3 separate regions of the Homo sapiens genome follow, and all the other regions are linked to region 2. The links are contacts of gene promoters, found by promoter capture Hi-C in human tissues and cell types (Jung and others, 2019). All regions are on one chromosome and are shown on one strand. Each heading gives the region's core, a stretch centred on a gene start or on the middle of the fragment in contact. The rest is flanking DNA. Distances are from core to core; before and after follow the strand shown.

Region 1 (2,700 bases), core at 55-2,554, 140 kb before region 2:
GACCCGATGGAGCTGAAAACCATGGCACGAGAACTATGTGATGCATGCACAAGCTTCAGTAGCTGATTCAATCAAGTGGAAGAAAAGGTATCAGTAATTGAAGATCAAATGGATGAAATGAAGTGAGAAGAGAAGTTTAGAGAAAAAAGAGTAAAAAGAAATGAAAAAGCCTCCAAGAAATATGGGACTATGTGAAAAGACCAAATCTATGTCTGATTGGTGTACCTGAAAGTGACAGGGATGGAACCAAGTTGGGAAACACTCTTCAGGATATTATTCAGGAGAACTTCCCCAACCTAGCAAGGCAGACCAACATTCAAATTCAGGAAATACAGAGAACGCCACAAAGATACTCCTCGAGAGGAGCAACTCCAAGACACATAATTGTCAGATTCACCAAAGTTGAAATGAAGGAAAAAATGTTAAGGGCAGCCAGAGAGAAAGGTCGGGTTACCCACAAAGGGAAGCCCGTCAGACTAACAGCGGATCTCTTGGCAGAAACTCTACAAGCCAGAAAAGAGTGGGGGCCAATATTCAACATTCTTAAAGGAAAGAATTTTCAACCCAGAATTTCATATCCAGCCATACTAAGCTTCATAAGTGAAGGAGAAATAAAATCCTTTACAGATTCAAATGCTGAGAGATTTTGTCACCACCAGGCCTGCTGTAAAAGATCTCCTGAAGGAAGCACTAAACATGGAAAGGAACAACCGGTACCAGCCACTGCAAAAACATGCCAAATTGTAAAGACCATTGAGGCTAGGAAGAAACTGTATCAACTAACGAGCAAAATAACCAGTTAACATCATAATGACTGGATCAAATTCACACATAACAATATTAACCTTCAATGTAAATGGGCTAAATGCTCCAATTAAAAGACACAGACTGGCAAATTGGATAAAGAATCAAGACCCATCAGTGTGCTGTATTCAGGAGACCCATCTCACGTGCAGAGACATACATAGGCTCAAAATAAAGGGATGGAGGAAGATCTACCAAGCAAATGGAAAACAAACAAAAAAAGCAGGGGTTGCAATCCTAGTCTCTGATAAAACAGACTTTAAACCAACAAAGATCAAAAGAGACAAGGCCATTACATAAAGGTAAAGGGATCAATTCAACAAGAAGAGCTAACTATCCTAAATATTTATGCACCCAATACAGGAGCACTGAGATGCATAAAGCAAGTCCTTAGAGACCTACAAAGAGACTTAGACTCCCACACAATAATAATGGGAGACTTTAACATCCCACTGTCAACATTAGACAGATCAATGAGACAGAAAGTTAACAAGGATATACAGGAATTGAACTCAGCTCTGCACCAAGAGGACCTAATAGACATCTACAGAACTCTCCACCCCAAATCAACAGAATATACATTCTTCTCAGCACCACATCACACTTATTCCAAAATTGACCACATAGTTGGAAGTAAAGCACTCCTCAGCAAATGTAGAAGAATAGAAATTATAACAAACTGTCTCTCGGACCACAGAGCAATCAAACTAGAACTCAGGATTAAGAAACTCACTCTAAACCACTCAAATACATGGAAACTGAACAACCTGCTCCTGAATGACTACTGGGTACATAACAAATGAAGGCAGAAATAAAGATGTTCTTTGAAACCAATGAGAACAAAGACACAACATACCAGAATCTCTGGGACACATTTAAAGCAGTTTGTAGAGGGAAATTTATAGCACTAAATGCCCACAGGAGAAAGCAGGAAAGATGTAAAATTGACACCCTAACATCACAATTAAAAGAACTAGAGAGGCAAGAGCAAACACATTCAAAAGCTAGCAGAAGGCAAGAAATAACTAAGATCAGAGCAGAACTGAAGGAGACAGAGACAGAAAAAACCCTTCAAAAAATCAGTGAATCCAGGAGCTGTTTTTTTGAAAAGATCAACAAAATTGATAGACCGCCAGCAAGACTAATAAAGAAGAAAAGAGAGAAGAATCAAATAGATGCAATAAAAAATGATAAAGGGGATATCACCACCGATCCCACAGAAATACAAACTACCATCAGAGAGTACTATAAATACCTCTATGGAAATAAACTAGAAAATCTAGAAGAAATGGATAAATTCCTGGACACATACACCCTCCCAAGACTAAACCAGGAAGAAGTCGAATCCCTGAATAGACCAATAACAGGCTCTGAAATTGAGGCAATAATTAATAGACTACCAACCAAAAAAAGTCAAGGACCAGATGGATTCACAGCTGAATTCTACCAGAGGTACAAAGAGGAGCTAGTACCATTCCTTCTTAAACTATTCCAATCAATAGAAAAAGAGGGAATCCTCCCTAACTCATTTTATGAGGCCAGCAACATCCTGATACCAAAGCCTGGCAGAGACACAACAAAAAGAATTTTAGACCAATATACCTGATGAACATCGATGCAAAAATCCTCAATAAAATACTGGCAAACCAAATCCAGCAGCACATCAAAAAGCTTATCCACCACGATCAAGTTGGCTTCATCCCTGGGATGCAAGGCTGATTCAACATATGCAAAGCAATAAACGTAATCCATCATATAAACAGAACCAAAGACAAAAACCACAAGATTATCTGAATAGATGCAGAAAAGGCCTTCGACAAAATTCCACAGCCCTTTATGCTAAAAACTCTCAATAAACTGGGTATTGATGGGATGTATCTCAAAATAATAAGAGCT
Region 2 (2,700 bases), core at 104-2,603:
CTAAAAATACAAAAATTGGCCGGGCGCAGTGGCTCACGCCTGTAATCCCAGTACCTTGGGAGGCCGAAGTGGGCGGATCACAAAGTCAGGAGGAGTTCAAGACCAGCCTGGCCAATATGGTGAAACCCGTTTCTACTAAAAATACAAAAATTAGCCGGGCGTGGTGGCTGGCGCCTGTAGTCCCAGCTACTCGGGAGGCTGAGGCAAGAGAATCGCTTGAACCCGGGAGGCGGAGGTTGCAGTGAGCCGAGATGGCGCCACAGCACTTCAGCCTGGGGCGACGGAGCGAGACTCCGTCTCAAAAATATAAAAATCTGGTAAAATAAAAACAGGTCTTTTGGGGAAGGGGGCGGGGACTGGGATGGAATAACGTGGCAGATAACAGCCCTCCTTCCTACAGCCTCCAAATTTTAGACAAAGCTTTACACACTCTCAACCAACTGCCACCTACAGAATCCCTCCACCACCTGTGCCTTCTAACCCCGCTTCCATGTGTCCCGCCTTTCGGCCAAAGGAACTTACACCTTCCCGGCACTGATTCATCATTTTCCTGCAATTCCTGTCTCCCTGAAATGAATAAAACCAAACTGTCAGGAGCTGCCTCGGGATTGCTTACTCCAGACTTCGCGGGGTTGTGTTTCCCTCAGCCGAGGTCTCTCCTATTCGGCTCAGAATAAACTTATTCTACACGATTTGGGTTTTTCCGTTACCAAACCACAAGCCAGGACTGGGAGTTTCTCATTCATTAATCGCTGTTTGCTAAAATAAACTCTCATTTTTTAACAGTGCCTCAGTTTAATTTTTAACTGGAAAAAAAAAGGAACTGGGGACCCCACAGCCCACAGCTCCTCCCACACGAACCCCACACCCGAGGCAGGATCCCCCATGACCCTTCCATGGTCACCGCACAATCTGGGGAGACGCGGGGCTGCGGGCGCGGAGCTGCTCAGAGAGGGAGCCGGGGCCGGGGCCGCAGTCGCCGCGCAGGGACCGGACAGGACGCCCGGGGTCCCGGCTGCCGGCCCAGCTCCACCCAGCGGCCGAGGGGACCGAGGGCCGAGCTGCGCTAGGGGGACTGTGTCTGGAGCCCAGAGTCGCTGCAGGGGGGCCCGGGCCCCGCCACAGCGGGTTCCTCTCGGTTCCACCCAGTCCCTCCTTTCGCCTTGGGACTCCCCAGCACCGCATGCTCACCATTTCCTGGCTTCCAGGTATTCTGGCGTCCTCTCTAAAGGTCCCGTGAACAGTGCAGGTCACAGCGCAGTCGACAGAGCAACAGCAGCTACGGCGGAAGTAACTGGTCCCTCTCGGAGCAAGAAAGCCCCAGACCTTAACTAGCGCGAGCAGCCCTAGGAGTGAAGAGAGCGGGAATGCAACCTCCCCTTCCCTGGAGGACAGTGGCAGGGCCCCGCCCTAGCGCCCCTGATTGGATAGGGGTCTAGACTCCGCCCCCTTCCCTGAGTGACAGCAGAAGCCCCGGGTAACTGGGCGCTGCAGAGCCGAAGCGACTGGTTCTGGCCACACTTTCCAAGGTCAGCTCCCTCCCTCCCTCCCACCTTTACTTCGAATATTTGCCTTCGGCCAAACTTGCTCCGAACTGCTAGAAGGGACACTGTTGTCTTCCTCACTCCGTGGGCCGTCCCTGCCCCTTCATCCTACACGGGACACAAGTGTGCAGGGAATTCCAGATTCAGTGTCCACAAAATGTGAAAGACATTAAAATATTTTGCCCCAAGATATTGCCCTGCCAAAATATATTTCTTTGACAGTTTTGAAATGGCTGCTGCTTGGCCAGCAAACAAAAGGTGGCCTTGCAAAACTGTCTTTTGAGGGGGAAATTTACATTTGTAGAGAATCTCCGTTAATGAAGCACTGCCAGCTCCCCCGTTCTTTTCCTTTCCCTGATCTAAAAGCTATTGAGAGTTTGACACCTTTAAAATCTGAAGAGAGGTAGCACATGGTGACTCATGTCTATAATCCCACCACATTGGCAAACTGAGGCGGAAGGATCCCTTGAAGCAAGGAGTTTGAGGCCAACATCATCAACACAGCGAGATCCCTGTCTTTCTTTCTTTTTTTTTTTTTTTTTTAGACAGTCTCGATCTGTCGCCCAGGCTGGAGCACAGTGGCACGAGATCTTGGCTCACTGCAACCTCCGCCTCCCAGGTTCAAGCGATTCTCCTGCCCCAGCCTCCCAAATAGCTGGGATTACAGACATGCGCCACCACGCCCCGCTAATTTTGTATTTTTAGTAGAGACGGGGTTTCTCCATGTTGGTCAGGCTGGTCTCGAACTCACGACCTCAGGTGATCCGCCCGCCTCGGCCTCCTAAAGTGCTGGGATTACAGGCGTGAGCCACCTCGCCCGCCGATCCCTGTCTTTATTATTTAAAATTTTTTTAAATGGCCGGGCGCTGGCCGGGCGCAGTGGCTCACGCCTGTAATCCCAGCACTTTGGGAGACCGAGGTGGGCGGATCACGAGGTCAGGAGATCGAGACCATCCTGGCTAATACGGTGAAACCCCGTCTCTACTAAAAATACAAAAAAAAAATTAGCCGGGCGTGGTGGTGGGCGCCTGTAGTCCCAGCTACTCGGGAGGCTGAGGCAGGAGAATGGCGAGAACACGGGAGGTGGAGCTTGTAGTGAGCAGAGATCGCACCACTGTACTCCAGCCTGGGCCACAGAGCAAGACTGTGTCTCAAA
Region 3 (2,700 bases), core at 14-2,513, 190 kb after region 2:
GTGAGGGACTTGAAAACATTTGTACAAAGATATATAAATGGCCAACAACCACATGGAATAATGCTCATTACCACTGGTGATTAGGGAAATGTAAATCAAAACACCAGTGACAGTTCACAACTGTTGGAATGGCTGCCATTTAAAACAAAAAGTAGAATATAACCAGGGTTGGTGAGCATGCATAGAAACTGCAGTCCTTGTGTATTGCTGGGGAGAATTTTACACACAGCCACTGTGAAAAACAGTATGGCTATACATGAACATAGAAAACCCTGTGACCCAGCAATTCCACTCCTAGGTATGTATCTAAAAGAATAGAGGCCAGGCACGGTGGCTCACACTTGTAATCCCAGTACTCTGGGAGGCCAAAGTGGGTGGATCACCAGAGGTCAGGAGTCCAAGACCAGCCTTCCTGGCCAACATGGTGAAACCCTGTCTCTACTAAAAATACAAAAAGTTAGCTGGGCATAGTGGCAGACACCTGTAATCACAGCCACTCAGGAGGCTGAGACAGGAGAAACACTTGAACCTGGGAGGTGGAGGTTTCAGTGAGCCAAGATCGCACCACTGCACTCCAGCCTGGGCAACAGAGCGAGACTCCGTTGCAATCAATCAACCATGGAAAGCAGGGACTCAGACACATACGCACTGATTTTAGAGCAGTATTCAGAGTAGTCAAAAGAGTTTTGTGGAAACAACCCAAGTGCTCAACATATGGATGGATAAACAAAGTGTGGTGTATCCAATATACCACACTTGGGAATATTATTCAGGCACAAAAACTGAATTACTGGTACATGCTAACATGTGGATGAACCTTGAAAACATTATGCTAAGTGAAATAAGCCAGACACATAAGGACAAATACTGCATGCTTCTACTTACATGACGCACCTAGAATCAGCAAATTCATAGAGCAAGAAAGGAAAATAGAGATTACCAAGGGATGGGGATGGGAGGAATAGGGAATGGTTGTTTAATGGGTACCAATTTTTTTTTGGACTAATGAAAAAATTCTGGAACTAGCTAGCTAGCTGTGATGGTTCTAAAGCACTGTTAATGTATTTAATGCTACTGAATGGCATACTTACAATGGTAAATTCTATGTTACTATATTTGACCTTAAAAAAAATTAAAGGCCGGGTGCGGTGGCTCACGCCTGTAATCCCAGCACTTTGGGAGGCCGAGGTGGGCAGATCACATGAGGTCAGGAGTTCAAGGACCATCCTGGCTAACACAGTGAAACCCTGTCTCTACTAAAAATACAAAAAATTAGCCGGGCGTGGTGGTGGGCACCTGTAGTCCTAGCTACTCGGGAGGCTGAGGCAGGAGAATAGCGTGAACCTGGGAGGCGGAGCTTGCAGTGAGCCGAGATTGCACTACTGCACTCCAGCCTGGGTGACAGAGCGAGACTCCGGCTCAAAAAAAAAAAAAAATTAAAAACTGGCCAGGCACATTGGCACACGGCTCACACCTGTAATCCCAGCACTTCGAGAGGCCAAGGCAGGAAGATCCCTTGAGCCCAGGAAACCTGTCTGGGCAATATAGTAAGACCTATATAGTAAGACCTTGTCTCTCCAAAAAAAAAAAAAAAAAAAAATATGATTTAAAAAATTACCTGGGCATGGTAGTGTGCACCTGTAGTCCCAGCTATTCAGGAGGCTGAGGTGGGAGGATCATTTGCTTGGGAGGCAGCAGTTTCAGTGAGCCAAGAGAACACTACTGAACTCCAGCCTGGGTGACAGGGAGACCCTGTCTGAAAGAAAAAAAATTAAAAACTAAAGACACAATTTGAGCTACTAGAAAGGAAAACAACAATGCCTGGTATAAAATATGCACTGGATTGAATAACCAGATCAGATATTTCAGGAAGAAATTAAGACCCAGCAATAGAAATGACATAATTTTAAATACATGCACTTAACAAATTGCCAAAATACGTCATGCAAGAACACACAGAACTGCAAGGTGACACAGAAAAATTCACAGTTAACTGAAGACTTCAACACTTCTCAGTAATACAAAGATCCAACAGGCGTAGATTCAGTAAACATTCCTTTTTTATTTTAAAATACTTCACAAAGATTGTATATGTTCATGATGTACAGTTATGTTTTGATGTATATATATACATTCTGTAATGGTTACCACAGTCAAATTAACACATTGATGACCACCCATGCTGTACATTAAATCTCCAGAACGTGTTCACCTTACAACTTGGTTTTTAACCTTTGACCAACATTTCTCCATTTTCCCTACCTTCTGGACTCTAGTAACCACCGTTCCTCCCTCTGCCTCGGAGTTTAAGTTTTTAATATTCCACAATTAAGTGGGATCATGAAGTATTTGCCTATGTCTGCCTTATTTTATAGTGTCCACCAGGTTTATTCATGTGACAAATGTCAGGATTTCCTTTTTACGGCTGAGTAATATTCTGTTTAAATATACATCACACTTTCTTTATTCATCCATTAATGGATGCTAAGTTTGTTTCCATATGTTGACTATTGTGAATAATGCTGTAATGAACATATGCGAGTGGCAGATATCTCTTTGAAATACTGATCACTGCCTTTGGTCATATATGCATATACCCAGGAGTGAGACTGTTGGATCACATGGTAGTTTTTGTTTTTTTTTGCAGAACCTCCATATTGTTTTTCACAATGGCTGTACCAATGTACATTCCCACCAACA

What was found. The method cuts DNA at HindIII sites, captures the fragments that hold promoters and counts their contacts. A contact is called where the count stands out against the background at its distance.
Region 1: a contact is called between a fragment that was not itself captured here and the fragment with the promoter of ZNF878 in region 2, in 1 of the 25 tissues and cell types used here (mesenchymal stem cells).
Region 3: a contact is called between a fragment that was not itself captured here and the fragment with the promoter of ZNF878 in region 2, in 1 of the 25 tissues and cell types used here (lymphoblastoid cells).

What each region holds. Positions count from the first base shown.
Region 1 is chr19:11,906,985-11,909,684 of GRCh38, forward strand. It overlaps a transcript of ZNF69 not described here. Among named protein-coding and RNA genes, the nearest start is that of ZNF700, 17 kb to the right of the region's middle. The HindIII fragment of the contact is 5,350 bases long and covers 1-2,700 here.
Region 2 is chr19:12,051,608-12,054,307 of GRCh38, forward strand. ZNF878 (zinc finger protein 878) reads right to left here and starts at 1,354. Exons shown (of 4, transcript NM_001080404.3): 1 at 1,192-1,354. The coding sequence starts at 1,194. RefSeq lists a silencer at 950-999 and an enhancer at 1,188-1,693. The HindIII fragment of the contact is 7,236 bases long and covers 1-2,700 here.
Region 3 is chr19:12,241,089-12,243,788 of GRCh38, forward strand. It overlaps a transcript of ZNF44 not described here. Among named protein-coding and RNA genes, the nearest start is that of ZNF44, 52 kb to the right of the region's middle. The HindIII fragment of the contact is 7,661 bases long and covers 1-2,700 here.